Regions from separate parts of the Homo sapiens genome. Here region 2 is linked to region 1. Evidence: promoter capture Hi-C in 16 types of primary human blood cells and fetal thymus (Javierre and others, 2016). All regions are on one chromosome and are shown on one strand. Each heading gives the region's core, a stretch centred on a gene start or on the middle of the fragment in contact. The rest is flanking DNA. Distances are from core to core; before and after follow the strand shown.

Region 1 (2,618 bases), core at 83-2,582:
GGGAAGTCCAAGATCAAGGCTCCAGTGATTTCAGTTTCTATTTCCAAGATGATGCCACTTTGCTGCATCTTTTGGAGAGAAGGAGCATTGTGTACTCACCTGGCAGAAGAGCAGAAGGTACCAACCCATTCCCACAAGCCCTTTTTATAGTAGCATTCATCCATTCATGAGGGTGGAGCCATCATAACCTAAACATTGTCCATTAGGCCCTATCTCCCAGCACTATTAGGGATTAATTTTCAACATGAGCTTTGGAGAAGAAAAAAATATTCAAACCACAGCAGTAATTTGAAAACATAAAAAGAAATGGGTGAAATTAATTTTAATAATATATTTTATTTAACCCAAAAAGTCCAAAATACTATCATGTAATCAATAAACAGTATAAACATTATTAACAAGATATTTTATATTTTTTTCTGTACCCAGTCTTTGAAATCCAGTGTGAATTTTATACCCATAGTACATCTGAGTTTGGACTACTCATATTTCAAGTGCTCAAGAGCCACATGTGGGCTAGCGGCTACCACATAGGACAACACAGTTCTAGAGGAAGCATGGCATGACTTTGGAGGTCATCTAGTCTGACTTGTTATTTACAGCAAAGTTAAGTACGTTGCCTGAGGTTATACAACTTATTAGTAGATGAGGAACAATTAGAATCCAATTATCTTCATGCTACCCCATGCTTTTATTCACAAAGCTGATTGGCAGCAAAGCTGCACTAGCGCTCATGCCTCTTCACACCTGCTCTTGGGCTCTTTTCTACAAGGCATTGCCCCCCTTCCTGTCTTTCTCCTAAATAAGCTATTGTAAAAAGCTTCACTGGAAACAATTTGGCTGTGAACCAAGACTAAAGTGGGGTTTAATACTTCCATATCTTTCCACAAAGATACATTTTTTATGACTTGTCACCCTTGTCCCCAGAAACTCATGGTTTCCATAAGCTACTTAAAAACTGATTATGCAATGGGTCTCAACATAAGTGTCCATCAGAATCACCTATAGAGCTTTTACAAAATTCAAATGACTGGTCTCCTACCTGGGAGTTCTGGTTTACAAATCAGGGAAAGGGGAGAGTCATTTAGATTGATTTTTTTTAATGTTCCCCAAATGATTCTGATGCACACCCCACCTCACAGTGACCCTGCCAGCTGCCAGATCTCCATTGACATCCCCTGACCCCCAGGCAGGATGAACACAAGTTAGGAGCTTAATAAGTCGAGGAGGAGCCTGGTCTTAAGGAAAGAAACATGAGAAATAGATACCCTGAACACCTCCCAGGGCGGGGCCACCTGGCTTACTTTTCCTCTGCACTTTCTCTGTGCCCAAGGACACCTTTAGCCTCATTTCCTGATCGAACAGCCTCACTTGTGTTGCTGTCAGTGCCAGTAGGGCAGGCAGGAATGCAGCAGAGAGGACTCGCCATCGTGGCCTTGGCTGTCTGTGCGGCCCTACATGCCTCAGAAGGTGAGTGGGGGCACTGGACACTTAGGCCTTCACTGGAAAGGGGGGTATCTCCCAAATCTGTGCTGGAAGGATTGAGGTGGGGCAAGAATATCTATCTCTTCAAGCAGGAATTTCCAATTGATTTCTGATTACCTACAAGAGAATGACATAGCTTTAAATTCTAGATCTCCCAGAAGTTTCAGGAAGGAACCTCATTCTAACAGGCATACTACAAATTTTTGCCACCTGGAGGATGAGGTCCTTCCATGTAGGTACAACTTCGAGCTATGTTTCCTTTTCTGAAGACAGTATCTTAGAAAATCCCCAGCTAGAGGCTGGAGTAAAGCCCCTACTATTCATCTGTCTTCCTCCACACCCCAACCTGCTAAACGGTCTGAACACAACTGTGCACATTCCTGGAGGGAAATACAGACTTGGCCAGCTGCGTTCAAATTAGGTAAGTTGTAAATTTCCTGAGCAAAGTCAGCTCTATGGATACAGAAAACTGAAACTTCAGTCTGACCTTTAAAAAGGGAGGGCAGAGCTGAGCACAGTGGTGCATGCCTGTATTCCCACCTACTTGGGAGGCTACGGCTGGAGGATAGCTTCAGGCCAGGAATTCAAGATTGCAGTGAGCTATGATCACACTGTGAATTGCCACTGCACTCTGAATTGCCACTGCACTCCAGCTTGGGCAACATAGTAAAACCCCATCTGTTAAAAACAAAAAGAGGGGAGGGGAGGGGAAAGAGAAGGAAAGGAAGAAAGGAAAGGAAAGAAAGAAAAAGAAGAAAAGCAGGATGAGGGAGATTGAACCATACAAATTATGTCAAAGAGAATTTAAATCGTGAGTTGCTAGCATGTATTTGGAGATTGTAACTGCATTTGAACTAGAGGGAATCTCTTCTAAAGTAGCACTCACTACTATATTCAGGAAACCCTAAGTGTCAGTACTTAATACTTGACCAATGACTCTTTTCCATTGTCATCTTTTCTTTAAGCTTTATCCTGAACAGATTCTCTAAGTCTAGAGCAGAGGTGGAATATAAGTCTTTGGTCTGCTTTTTAAAAATCTGAGCCAACATTTTAAAACTGAAAGCTTTCTCATGTACATACTCATACATACACACATACAAATTGGATTTTAAAGCTTCTCTTGAGAAATCAGA
Region 2 (2,618 bases), core at 31-2,530, 260 kb after region 1:
ACAATAATCTTTGTCAAGCTGGGTGTGGTGGCTCACACCTATAATACCAGCACTTTGGGAGGCTGAGGCGGGAGGATCGCTTGAGTCCGGGAGTTTAAGAACAGCCTGGAGAACATAGTAAGACCCCATCTCCACAAAAAATTATAAAAGATTAGCTGGGCATGGTGGCACATGTCTACAGTCTCAGCTCCTTTGGGAGGCTGAGGTGGGAGGATCATCTGAGCCTGGAAAGTTACAGCTGCAGTGAGCTGTGATTGCACCACTGCACTCCAGCCTGGGTGACACAGTGAGACCCTGTCTCCAAAAACAAAACAAAACAAACCACCTTTGTCTTTCAGAACTGCCCCTAGAACCTTTCAAATTAAGAAAAATGCTCAGTTGCAGGTCTCTCCAATGGCTATAAGCATTTTTAAACTGACTGCTGTGTTTGCCATTCCCTGCCAAGTGGTTTCCCTTAACTTTACCAACATATCTTCTAAAAACAGCTGGGGATGACTCCTGTGTGTCGCAGGCAAAACACCATGCTCCACTACCATTCTCATAGCTGAGATCAGTCCATGAGGTGGACAGTTACTACTCAAGTCAGCTGGCATTCAGGAGCTTGTGATAAATAGGACAGACTCGGCTGGGAGTGGTGGCTCACACCTGTAATCCCAGCACTTTGGGATGCTGAAGCAGGCGGATCACTTGAGGTCGGGAGTTCGAGACCAGCCTGGCCAACGTGGTGAAACTCCGTCTCCACTAAAAACACAAAAGTTAGCTCAACCTAGTGGCACGTGCCTGTAGTCCCAGCTACCGGGGAATCTGAGGCAGGAGAATCACTTGAACCTGGGAGGTAGAGGCAGTGAGCCAAGATCATGTCACTGCACTCCAGCCTGGGCGACAGAGCGGGACTCCATCTCAATAAATAAATAAATAAATAAATAGGAAAGAAGTCAACTGACTGTCCTGTCCTCAGTCTCTCCAAAAACTAGAACTAGACTGAATCATTCTAATTGAACTGGGAAAGGAGACTACATTGGAGGCTATATCAATCTGTGCCTCTACACTGATGCAGGTTCGTGCCTACTTTGGAGGCACGAACAATTGCAAATAGTACTTTCCTTTCAGGGTTCCTATGTGCCCCTGGGACTGTGCTTCTTGTGTGGAAGCCAGGTACTAATTTCCTTGCCTCACAAAAATACGATGACTGGCAAGGCGCGGTGGCTCGTCCCTGTAATCCCAGCACTTTGGGACTCCGAGGCAGGTGTGTTACTTGAGGTCGGGAGTTGGAGACCCGTCTGGCCAACATGGAGAAACCTCATTTCTGCCAAAAATACAAAAATTAGCAGGGTGAGGTGGCAGGTGCCTGTAATCCCAGCTACTAGGGAGGCTGAGGCAGGAGTATTGCTTGAGCCCAGAAGGCAGAGGTTGCAGCGAACTGAGATTGCGTCACTGCACTCCAGCCTGGGCACAGAGTGAGACTCCGTCTCAAAAAAACAAAACAAAACGAAACAAAATGACGACTTACACCTAAGAGGTGGTTATAAGAGACCATCAAGTGTTTAAGGAAGATCAAGCAGCCCTCGGGTGACTGTGGAGGTCTCATTTAAGGATACTCTTGGTTAGAAATTCTCAAAGGGATGCTTCCTAGAATAATAACTGACTTATTTATGCACATCCCGTGGGCAGTTTTCCCTAATAGGAGTAATCCAATTAAAAAAGTGGTACAACATTGTGCATGACTTAAGCTGATATGTTCACTGATATCACTTGGGCTCTGGAAGGCATTTATGTCAGCTTCAAGCCACTGGGGCCAGGTTTATTATGAATGAAAAACTTGCCCTAGTAGACATCCTCCCTATGGGACAATGTGGAGCCTGTATAATTGTAAAGCATCTTGCTATACTTAGACTAATGCCCAGGGCTAAGTGGAAAAGTCAATACAGAAACCGAAAAAGAAAGTCACCTGTTTTTCTAGGGATTTGTTCAGTTGGCTGAGTCCAGAATGAACCTTAGTGTGGTGGGTGCATGATTAAGGTCAACACGGCAGGGTGCCCAAATCCTGCTGCTTGAAGTTCTGTTGACTTCAATAAATCCTTAAATAAATCCAGTAGGAGAAAAACTGAATGGATTAGGTCCTGGTCCCTGTGTTTTTTGTTTGTTTTTGGGACAGAGTTTCACTCTTGTTGCCCAAGCCAGAGTGCAATGGCGCGATCTCAGTTCACTGCAGCCTCAGCAATTCTCCTGCCTCAGCCTCCTGAGTAGCTGGGATTACAGGCATGTGTCACCGTGCCCAGCTAATTTTTTTGTATTTTTAGTAGAAATGGGGTTCCACCACGTTAGCCAGGCTGGTCTCGAACTCCTGACCTCAGATGATCCGCCCGCCTCGGCCTCCCAAAGTGCTGGGATTACAGGCATGAGCCACCGCACCCAGCCAGGTCCTGGTCCCTACGGTCAGATTAATCAGAGCGGCTAAAGAAGTGCTGTACTTATGGGGAAAATTCAGTACCAGCCAGGATAATACAGAAACAAGGATATGGAACAAGACAACTCTCCATGGATACTCATAATGTTTCTGCATGTCTTATAAACAAAGACATTGAGAGCCTTTTATTTTGGACTATCTTTTCAAAGTT

What was found. Contacts are between HindIII fragments. The CHiCAGO score rates a contact against its expected background, and 5 or more counts as called.
Region 2: a contact is called between a fragment that was not itself captured here and the fragment with the promoter of CCL28 in region 1, in 4 of 17 cell types (erythroblasts, M1 macrophages, M2 macrophages and 1 more). The highest score is 8.4, in erythroblasts.

Annotation. Positions count from the first base shown.
Region 1 is chr5:43,411,105-43,413,722 of GRCh38, reverse strand. It overlaps CCL28 (C-C motif chemokine ligand 28), which reads left to right and starts at 1,332. Exons shown (of 3, transcript NM_148672.3): 1 at 1,332-1,470. The coding sequence starts at 1,407. The HindIII fragment of the contact is 1,630 bases long and covers 823-2,452 here.
Region 2 is chr5:43,150,308-43,152,925 of GRCh38, reverse strand. All of the region lies in intron 4 of ZNF131 (zinc finger protein 131), which reads right to left. Among named protein-coding and RNA genes, the nearest start is that of ZNF131, 31 kb to the right of the region's middle. The HindIII fragment of the contact is 9,324 bases long and covers 1-2,618 here.